Linked DNA regions of Homo sapiens: all the other regions are linked to region 2. The links are contacts of gene promoters, found by promoter capture Hi-C in human tissues and cell types (Jung and others, 2019). All regions are on one chromosome and are shown on one strand. Each heading gives the region's core, a stretch centred on a gene start or on the middle of the fragment in contact. The rest is flanking DNA. Distances are from core to core; before and after follow the strand shown. Region 1 has its middle 29 kb from the start of OLFM1. Region 2 holds the start of FCN2 (ficolin 2). Region 3 has its middle 47 kb from the start of OLFM1. Region 4 has its middle 64 kb from the start of OLFM1.

Region 1 (2,700 bases), core at 111-2,610, 180 kb before region 2:
CCCTTGCCCCAGATGACCAAAGATACTGGGCATCTTCTTGTGTGCTTATTGGCCCTGTGCATATTGTCTTGAGCTGTGCCCAGCTGTTTTGCCCATTTTCTAATAGATATTTTTGTCTTCTCCATGAATTGTAAAAGTTCTTCCTATATTCTGGGTATAAGTCTTTTGTCAGATAGATGTATTTTCAATACTCTCTTCCACTCTGTGCCTTGCTCCTTTTTGGTTTGTTTTCTTAGCGGTGGCTTTCAAGTTTTCGATTTTGATAAAGTTAACTTTTTCAATTTATATTTTGTGGTTTGTGTTTTTTGCAACCAACCTAAGAAATCTGTGCCCCACAGTTACAAAGATTTTCTCCTGTTTTCTTCTGGAAGTTTAGTATTAGCTTTTGCACTTTGCCCTATGATTCGAGTTTTGCTTTTGTATGTGGTGTGAGGTGAGGGTCAATTTTCATTTTCTCTTCATAGGTTTACCCCATAATTCCAGCAGCATTTGTCAAAAAAATTCTTCTTTCCCCATGAATTGCCACTGCACTTTGGTTAATCATGAATTTCACATATGTGTGAAATATTTCTGCACTCTCTGTTAGAGATCACTGCTTTATATATGTATCCTTTTGCAAAATCCTCACTGTCTTGGTTATTATACATTTACAATAAATCTTAAAATCAGATGAGTTTGAGCCCTCCACTTTGTTTTTGTGCTTTTTCAGGGGTGAAGCACATAATCTGAAGTCCACTTATATTTGGGCTGTGTATCCTTCATATTAATAAAAATGCTGATCTAGTGGAGCTACTCTTAGCATTTATATTTAAGCTTATTTTTCAATGAACCTTTACCTTTACATCTTTTTAGGTTAGCCTACACCTTTAAATCTTTCTGAAAACTGCTTTTACTGATGTATATGTGTATCGTACACATGGCATATATATGTGGGTTTATATATCATACACTTTGTTTATATACCTATAACTTGATGAATTTTTGCAAACCAAACACATCCATGAATCCAGCACAAGTTAAATAAACAGAACGTTCCCAGTCCCCGAGAAAGCCCCTCCTGCTCCTTTCCAGTCCCTAAGCCCCAGTGCTCACTACTCTGGATTTTAAACCTTAGTTTTGCTTGTTTTGTGCTTTACGTACATGAAACATAGAATGTCTCCATTTGATGATGTGATTTAAGTAGAACTATACTTGGAAAGCTCACAATTACACAATTATTTATATTCGGCACTAAACACATTTCCCATTTGATCCAAGTAGAATTAGTCTAAGGGTTTCTGCCGCTTGCTTGATGATAGGAATGACAGAGGTATCATTAAAATGTAGACCCCAGGTTCCTTTGCTGACAATTCAAATCCAGTGGATGGATCTGGGCCTGGGAATCTGTATTTATTTATTGCTTTTATAATTATTTTTAATCGACATAGAATAATTGCCCATACTTATGGGGCACAGTGTGAGATTTTAATACATGTATACAGTATGTAATGATCATTTGATTTCAGGGTGATTAGCATAGCCATTGCTGCAAACATTTATCATTTCTGTGTGTTGGGAACATTTGAAATCCACTCTCCTAGCTATTTATTAAATTGTTGTTAATTAATTACAGTCATCCTAGGTGCAATAGAGCCCTGAACTCATTCCTCCTCCCTAGCTGGCCATTTACATCCCTTAACCAACCTTTGATTACCCCGCCTTCCCTTCAACTTTGTTCTTTTTAAAAATTGCTTTGGCTATTCTAAGTCATTACCATTTTTGTATACATTTTTTTAATCAGCCTGTCAATTTCTCCATTCCAGTAAAATGCCTCCTGGGTTGCACTGAATCTATAGATCAGTTTAGAGAGGACTGACCTTTTGACAATGCCGGATACATAAATAGGGTCTGTCTTCCATTTACTTACGTAAATTTCTCTCAGCAGCATTTCATGGTTTTCAGTGAGGAGGAGTTACACTTTTTTGTTAAATTCATTCCTTCTGTGGCTTGTGGTGCTATTGTAAGAGTAATTTTTAAAATTTCACTTTCTAATTGTTTGATATTAGTATATAAACTGTGACTGATTTCTGTATCTTGTATCTTTCAATTTTGCTACATGCACTTATTAATTCCAGTAATTGTTTTACAGACTTCTTAGCATTTTTTACACAAGCAATTATTTTACCCACAGATAGGAACTGCTTTATTTCTTATCAAATCTGAATGCTTTTATTTCTTCATCTTCCTTTTGCAATGACTAGAATTTCAAGTAAATGTTTGAATAGAAGTGGCGAGAGCAAGAACTCTTGTTACCAATCTTATAGGGAAGATTAAGTGTGATAATTAGCTATGGATTTTACATAGCTACCCTTTATTCTTTATAAGGGGTATGCTTTATAAAGCTACCCTTTATCCTACCCTTATTCTTATTTCTCTGGGAGTTTATGATTGGATATGGAATTTTTATCTGATGTTTTTCTGTATCTATTAAAATGATTATATGGTTTTCTGCCTTCCTTTATTCTGTTAATATGGTGAATGACACTGATTGAGTTTCAAATGTTAAACCAACCTTGCATTTTGAGATAAAATTTACTTGTTCATAATGTACTATTATTTGTATATGTTGCTAGATTTCCTGAGTTGCTATTTTGTTAAGGATTGTTGTGTCTATGTTTGTGAGGAGTATTGGTTTATAGCTTTTTTCTTTTTTTCTTGTGA
Region 2 (2,700 bases), core at 42-2,541:
TCATATCATTGTAATCAATATCGGGTGAGAAGGACACAGGGAGAGAGGCTACCATTGCAACTCCCACGCCTGATCTTGGAGCAGATCTGAGAGTGGATGGGCTCCTGTGGGTCCACCTTGTTCCTCCACAGAGGGAGGCGTCCTTCAAGGACACTGAACAAGTTGGTGCGAAACTAGAGCTGGAATGCAGCTTGTTGTTTTTAATTAGATAACTCAAATTCAAGTGAGTGTGTTACAAAAATAACACGTGCTATTATTTGATCATTTAGAAACTCTAGAAGTATTTAAGGAAGAAAATAATGCCACCCTAACCCCACCACTCCACAACGAGCCACTAGGAGTTTCCAAGCGAATCCCCGCTGTTCCTGGCCTGTGTCACACTTCACGCCACGGATTGCTCCTTGAATGCGATGCTAGTCACAGCACACCGCAGAGCTCTGTGTCTCACATGCATTCCAGAAATCCTGACACGAATCTCTGCAAGCATCAGGAGCATCACAAATTCCTGACCCTGCATCCCAGCCCCGGGTAGACGGAGTCAGGACCTGACTCCAGAACCTGCATTTTCAACCTGCCCTCGCATGCGCCGGAGCCCATGGTTTGGCACCCGAGTGTCCCCTCGGGAGCCCCGAAGGAGGTCCAGAACTCACGGGGACAATGCCACCCTTATTGTGCCGCATCAGGGACACCATGGGAACTGCCATCTCCAGAGCCCAGCAGGTCCTGGATGGAAAGGTCCTGCAGTGCTCATCCCCGCCTGACACCCTGTCTTTCCGGGTGCTTATCCCCACCTCACACCCTGTCTCTCTGTGATGGCGACCATGGCAGAATATCTGACTGGTGTCTACCCAGCTGGCACCACAAGCCTCACCTCCCCACACAACACCATGACTACGCTTTTTACGCTTAGAGGGGGACATGTGGCCCAGGGAGACTGGAAACCTGCCTCGGTTTCCATTATGGGAGGGCAAGCAGAGGAAGCTCCGTCTCTGAGATGCCACATCCATTCGGGGCCTCTGCGTTTGTTCACATAAGATGAGGCATGCAGAGCTGCTGTCTCGTTAGACGATGCTCCACACGGCCTGGTGCAAGGCCTGGAAGCCAGGAAGCCACCAATCACGAAGCTGCCAGCTTTCAGGGACGAGAAGTTTCCAGGAGGAGGCCCTGGAGTGCCCTTACCTGGACAGGTGTCTGCCGCCTGGAGAGCCCAGGCCATGCCCAGGAAAGAGAGCAGCAGGGTGGCAGCGCCCAGGACCCCCACAGCTCTGTCCAGCTCCATCTCTTCTGGTCTTTGCTTCAAAAGGTGCCTGCCCTCTTATAGGGCTAGAGAAGCCAGCCTCCCTCAGACTCCAATTTCTCATCTTCCGAGTGACAGCCGCTTCCTCTCCGCGGGCTTGGTGACGCCAGCAGGAGGTGCGAGATCATCTCCAGGGCTGCTCCCTACCCCCCGCCCCTTGGGGATCCCATGGCGACTGTCATCCCTGCAGGGGGACGGTCTCCTTCCAGGGAACAGGCTGACTTGCTTGTGGCCTTGGGCAAAGAGCCCAGGCCCATCCTCCCACCTTTGTTCAGCGGTGAGCAGATGTCACCATGAGCTGAGAACGGGGAACAAGGAAGGGTTTGCTAAAGATGTTCTGCTTCAAAGAGGTCTCTCTCCCTTATCCGAATACCTAGAGTCCTCATGGCCAGGGCTGGTCATGGGCCACTGGTGTGGGCCTTACACAGTAACCCTCACCACATCATGAGCAGACTTGGGACTCTCCTCAGGAGGCTTGGAAACTGCCACTATGAGGTCCAGGCAGGCTGCCAGGGTGAAAAGGAGAGGAAAATGCGTGTGTGTCCACTGTTTCCTGGGGCAGTATGTAGAGCACAGGGGCACATGAACAGGAGGGAAAGGAGAGAAGAGTGGGGAGCCTGGGGGACTATGACCCAGGTACACATCTGAAGGGGAGACCTTGAGTGTGAATGCAGGGGCTTAGCCTGTAGGGAGGATGAGAGTAGGTGAATTTCACTCCTAGGGCCCAGGGAACCCCCTGAGCCCTGAGGCCAGACATCCCACCTGTAGGATGGCTGTGGACTTACTTCAGTGGTTGTGTTCGCCTTTTGGAGAAGAGCTGGCCTGAAGGTGCACTCTCGCCTTGGACTGAGCCAGGTTAGAGACAGAGACAGTAGCAGGTGGGGCCCCAGAGGCCGTATACCTAAAGCCCCCAGAGACGGAACCAGCACTGCACCTCCCACTACCACCACCGCACCCTGCCACCTGCTGCCATCGGGATGCCGAGGTGCCTTCTTCCTTGGCAAGATCAGTAGAAGGATTTTAAACTGTGACCCCAGCCCAGCAAAGCCACGCGAGAAACAAAATCCCATCGGATTTTCCTTCAATGCCCATGGAGATGTGTGGTCCTGAGACTATGACTAGTTAAGACCCCCCTCGGGTTCCGTGGTGTTTAGGGCAGACCTCTCAAGACTTAATTAAGGCTATGCCAGATGCAGATGAGGTCCAGGGATGAACCTGGGGAAGACACAGGCTCCATGGAGATGCAGATATGGAACCTAGAAAGATGGCTTGGGGGCATCTTCCTCAAAGTCCTGAAGTCACCTGCAGAGGAGCCAGGTCCCCAGAGCTGCCCAGTGAAACCCCAGCAGCCAAAATTCCGAGTCCTTAGGCAGGTTCCTTTACTGCATGCTATTTGTCCTTCC
Region 3 (2,700 bases), core at 71-2,570, 160 kb before region 2:
ATAATTGTATGCAAATATGCACCCACACATATGTAATCACTTGCATTTTAAAATGTGGGAGAGTAAGTTTTGAAATCCTGTGGAATAGTTATCTGCGGTGAGAGGAAAAAGAGTGGAAGGGAAGGAGGAATGCTGGCTTTTTCTGCACCTGCCTTCTTGTGAATTACTGCAGGTAACTTTAAAACGCCATGTAGAGCTCGTGAGATTATATCCTATAGATCCCACTGCTGGAGAGAGGCTAAGTGATCTTACACTGGTTTTGGCAACTGTGCTAGTAGTCATGGTATTGTTGTCGGCCTTGTTGTTCTGAAAATACTACGGACGTGTGGGTGGAGTGTACACAGGTAGTGAGACATAGCAATTATGTATAAAGATGATGCATGTAAGAGAAAAAAGACACAGATATAAAATGGAATAAACCACATAGAAGCCAGTAATCCTACATTGGCATGGTAAATATTACAATGATGTTATGGTGTACTTTCCATAGTGTGTGTGTATTACTTCTGTTCACCAAAAAGGCCAAGAAACGATGACAAATTCAGTAACAATGAACATTCTCAGCACAGAGACTATGGTCTCTAAATACCATTTCCCCACCATAAGGACCCAGGGTTCTTTGGAGAAATGACTGGTCCAGTTTGGGACCAAGAAGTATCCAAGTTGAACCTGGAGCATCTTCTTGTGCCAAAATAAAGGATGCATTGAAGATAAGCATGCTTGTGCCAAAGGCACTAGGCCCTCCTCTCCACCCCTGCATGGGCAGTGAACACCCTTCCATATCAGTGTTTCTCCCCACACACTCCTTAACTTGCCTCAAGTCACACACACACACACACGCACGCACGCACGCACGCACGCACGCATTTTTTTTTCAAAACAACAAGCATCTTTTAAAAAAAAAAATCTCGTACGTGAGGCATCTTAATCCATCAATCTTTCATTGCACAATGTATTGTGTACCCGATCCTGAAAAGGGAACAGGGTCTGTGGCTTTGAGGAGGTCCCTGGAAGACAAACACGGAACAGGAAGATAGAGGAGGATTCCATGTGATTTTCGTATGTGCTATGCAGGCTCCGCCATCCTGGAGATTCTTGAGCTGAGAGACAGGGGAGACTTCCCAGAGAAGGTGGGAAGGGAAGAGAGGGATGAAGGAGGAGAGAGCCGCGGGACTCCAGCTCCGGTTTCTCCCCCTACATTGCATCGGGAATGCGGGGTCCTGAATGCATTATTTTACTCAGTGCTGTGTGGGCTAGATAAAAGGTGTCCACATGCTTCTGGGGCTCCACAGCGCAGGCAGATTTTCTGAAGGAATTTGTTATAAATAATTAATGTTGACTTCTTCGGTTTTATGTAATGAAAATATTTTTTGGTTTGTCCTCTTTTTATAACCTTGTTTGTTGGTATATGCCACAGAATTTTAAATTTATGCACATTCATATTTCCTTTTTTGATTTTTTAATCATACTTAAAATGAAATTCTGCACCATGAATGAAAGGAAATAACTTCTTAAGCTTTTCATCTTTAAAGAAATAATGCTAACCACCACTGCATGCACCTGGTCGCTCCTGCTCACTGCTGGGCTCCTGCTCACTACTGGTCTCCTGATCACCGCTGGGCTGTACTTCCTGGCAGACTTCCCATACGAAGCAGGTGCCAGGTGAGATGTTGGGTGATGGTTGAATAGGCATGTAACCTGAACAAATGGCATCCACAAATCCTGGGGTCTTTGCATAGTGTGGGGAACTCTCATCCTTATTTCGATTGGATTTTTTATGGGAATCCAGTCAAAGGATGCAGGAGGGTGCTGCACTGAGGGCTTGAACTCACCTTTCCAAACATAAGGTCAGTTTGGCTTCCAGATCTCAGAACTGGACGCCTGTGGAAAAGATGCCAGGTCAGAAGCATCCCCTGCTGGATTCTGGCAATGATCTTCCCTCTGGGGGAGCGACGTGGAGGAGCTGCCTCTGTGAGCTGTGGGCTCAGCTTCTGTCCCAGGTACTCACCTCCTGCGTGGTGGAGGCTGACAGAAAGCTTTCACCTGCTTGGAGTGATTGCTGTTCTCTTGGAAGATGCAAACCTGGGAAAACTCAGCTTTGGGGAACCTGGGTGCCTCATCGGAGAGTAGGGGCTGGCATAAATGTGAGAATTTGCCTGGGGATGGTGAATTTTGTGTCCATAGCAGAATATCTGAAAAAAAATGGACCGTCCAGTGTGCCTGAACTCATCAGACGGGCCCTGCCTGGCACTCTGCAAAGGCAGTTTCTGCTCACCCTGCACCTGGCGTTTGCAGAGAGGGAACCTTGAGGAGCTTCTCACTCCTCCCCAGTGTCTCGGCATCTCTCAGAGGAGCTGCTCAGCGGGGCCTCGGTGGCTGGTGGCTCGCATCAGAGATGAAGCCTGTGCTGAGCTGAGCATGCACCACTGGAGGCTGCAGGTCTGGGCCCAGCCGTGGCCAGCGGCCTTTCCGTGTTGCCCCACAGCCTGCAGGCATCGGGTGTGAGCGTGTCCTGGGGACTGCATTTCTGCAGGGTGCACCCTGCACTCCCTGCGCCTCACCTCTGGCTGCCACTTTGGGAATCACAGAAGGGAGGATGTTCTTGGACAGTGGCCTGGTCAGTATCCCTGGTAGCTCCCAGCTGGGTACACTCGTGCATGCATCCACCTGGAGCATAAGTGTCTGCTCTTTTGCCCAGGG
Region 4 (2,700 bases), core at 87-2,586, 140 kb before region 2:
CAATTTTGACACAATGTATTTTTACTTTCATTCAGTTCAAAATATTTTTAAATTTACCTTGAGATTTCTCCTTTGACTCATATGTCCTTTGGAAAGATGTTATTTAATTCCTAATACTTGTGGATTTTCCACATATATTTCTTTTGTTGATTTTCATTTTAAGACTGTGGTATGTGAACACACTTTATATGATTTGTATTCTAAATTTCAGATTTGTTTTGTGGCTCATAATCTGGTCTGTCTTAGGGAAGCTTCCACGTACCCTTAAGAACATGTATTCTGTTGACGTTGGGTAGAGTGTACCAGAGATGCCAGGTGGGCCAAGTTGGCTGACGGTGTTGTTCAGGTCATCCACATCCTCACGGATTTTCTGCCAAGTACTGAGAGAGAATCGTTTACATCTCCAACAGTAATTATGGATTTGTCTAGTTCACTTTTCAGCTCTCTCATTTTTTGCTTCAGGTGTTTTGAAGCTGTGTTATTAAGTATATCTTTTAGATTTGTATGTCTCCTTGAAAAATCAAGTCTTTTATGGTGATGTAATGTTGCCTTTATCCCTGACAATTCTCCTTCTCGTGTCTCCTTCGTCTGATGTTAACATAGCTGCTCCGGCTGTACCTGGGCCGGCTCCCAAGAAGCTTCCATTCTTACACTCCCCAGTGGATTTTTGTGCACATTTTAAGTGTGAGAACCAGGGCCATCGGCATCATAAGCTCAGTGAGTGGAGATGGTGTCTTCTTTATTGAACCCCGTAGGAGGCACGAAGCCAGGCACAGACGTGATGTCAGGAGCTCGAAGATCTCCCGACAGGTGCCTGCCTTCCCCTTCTTGTCCCCATGGTCCATCCCCTTCGCCTCTGTCCACGTGGCTGTCCGAATTAGCATCCCGCATCACCTTGCTGGACTCCAGCCCACCTCTTCAGCTTCCTCTCTCCCCTCCCACCTTTGCTTCCTTGACTGGACATTTTTCCTTCTGGTCCATGGAGAGGCAGCACCCAACACTGTGCACCTCCAAGGTCCTCCTTCCTCTCCCAGGAATGCCACTAACGTCCAGGCCACTCTTTTGGGAGATCCCACGCCACCATTACCCCCTAGGAACACCTTCTTGGGCCCTCCGGAGCCGCTTCCCAGGTCCTGTGATCTGGTTTCTAAGGCTGGAGGTGTGATTGGCCTCACAGTCCTCCCGCCCCCGTGCAGCCTGCAGCAGGTGATCAGTGAAATGCACATCGCCTGAGTGAGTGCTGAGATGAGGTGGTGGCACGTGGCAGAGATTTGTCAGAAATTCTGGGAACAAATACCCTTCACAGTTCTCTAAAAAGGCAAAACTGGTGACAGGGAATGCAATGCCGGCAAACACAATCTCCTCACTTGCTTTGAAGCATGTAGGTCAATATTTCCATTTCAAGGAGGCTGTCATCAGCCTCGTCCATTATTAAGTGGGGGGCATGGGGAGCAGCTGTGGGGTTGACCATGGCAGCTGTCACAGCCCCACGTGGGCTGCTCCACTCTGAAGGGGTGAGGTGTTCTCTTCAGAAACACAATAATGAGTCACAGGTCCTGATTAGCAAGAAAGGCCGGAAAGCTGCTGCCAGCAGGACAGAGGCACAGACCAGGCTCCTTTCCAGAAAGTGCCCCCGGGGCTGAGGAGGCTCCTTTTGCAGGGCTGAGGTCTTGTGGCATGAAATTCCTCTCTCTGGCAGGGAAGCAGGCATGCGCAGACACCTCCCATCAGAACCATGGTGGATGGTGACTGTAGCTAGGTTTCAATATGGTTATTGTTTTCCTGATTATGAAAATAACACATAGCCATGATAGAAAGTTGAGAAAATACAGACATGGTGTAAAAAAGAAAGTAAGTGGCCGTAATCTCACCAAGCAAAGATCATTACTGTAGCTGCTGGGGATGAAGGGCGTGTACCTGTGAGACACACACCATGCTGGGCACACATGTAATCTTCCAATCATCCTGTAATTTTTCCAAAAACTGAGCAAGTGATTCTCAGTGAGGGCCTTCTGAGCCTCACTTTACTGGCAAGGAGACTCAGGCCTAGAGAGCTGAGGTGGCCTGTCTGCGATCCCATCGTGCAGCTGAGATCACATCCAAGCCCCCTGGCTCTTCTGCCTCTCCCCACTGCTTCTGGGGGTTGGTCCTCACAGCAGCTCACGCGCTTCCTTCCGTTCTTTTTTACAATCGAGTAGTTTTTGTTTGTTTATAGAACAGGGGTCCCATTGCACATATTAAGAGATATATCTTTTGTTCTCCACACAATGTCCTACCATTTGTGTATCCTCCCAAAACACCCAGGGTGACAATGTCATAGGGCACAGCCTCAGCACAGGCAGGTGAGCGCAGCTGGGGTGCACCGTGGGCCCTGAAATGCAGGGTAAGCCAATGGGAAGTTGGGGGAACACTCTGGTTTACAATGTCATAGGGCACAGCCTCGGCACAGGCAAGTGAGCTCAGCTGGGCGCACCCTGGACCCTGGAGTGCTGCGTGAGCTGTGGGAAGTCCAGGGACCCGCAGTTCTTGGTCTGTCTCTTTCTGCTTTCCCCATATCTGAAACGGGCCAGGTGCTTTCCAAGGTGTTTTGGCTCTGACCTGGAGGCTGGCACCACTCGAACGGGGTGTCCCCAGGGACCTGGGCCACTGTGGCGCCTGCCTTCAACCCCACTGCCAACCAGTCTCCAGGGTGTTGCCGGA

The links. Contacts are between HindIII fragments. The study calls those that stand out against the background at their distance.
Region 1: a fragment that was not itself captured here is called in contact with the fragment with the promoter of FCN2 in region 2 in 2 of the 25 tissues and cell types used here (liver and thymus).
Region 3: a contact is called between a fragment that was not itself captured here and the fragment with the promoter of FCN2 in region 2, in 2 of the 25 tissues and cell types used here (H1 embryonic stem cells and liver).
Region 4: a contact is called between a fragment that was not itself captured here and the fragment with the promoter of FCN2 in region 2, in 5 of the 25 tissues and cell types used here (IMR-90 fibroblasts, dorsolateral prefrontal cortex, mesenchymal stem cells and 2 more).

The regions. Positions count from the first base shown.
Region 1 is chr9:135,057,753-135,060,452 of GRCh38, reverse strand. No RefSeq gene overlaps it. Among named protein-coding and RNA genes, the nearest start is that of OLFM1, 29 kb to the left of the region's middle. The HindIII fragment of the contact is 4,932 bases long and covers 1-2,700 here.
Region 2 is chr9:134,879,401-134,882,100 of GRCh38, reverse strand. FCN2 (ficolin 2) reads right to left here and starts at 1,291. Exons shown (of 8, transcript NM_004108.3): 1 at 1,180-1,291. The coding sequence starts at 1,279. The HindIII fragment of the contact is 19,799 bases long and covers 1-2,700 here.
Region 3 is chr9:135,039,381-135,042,080 of GRCh38, reverse strand. No RefSeq gene overlaps it. Among named protein-coding and RNA genes, the nearest start is that of OLFM1, 47 kb to the left of the region's middle. The HindIII fragment of the contact is 3,441 bases long and covers 1-2,700 here.
Region 4 is chr9:135,022,485-135,025,184 of GRCh38, reverse strand. No RefSeq gene overlaps it. Among named protein-coding and RNA genes, the nearest start is that of OLFM1, 64 kb to the left of the region's middle. RefSeq lists an enhancer at 1,976-2,616. The HindIII fragment of the contact is 4,205 bases long and covers 1-2,700 here.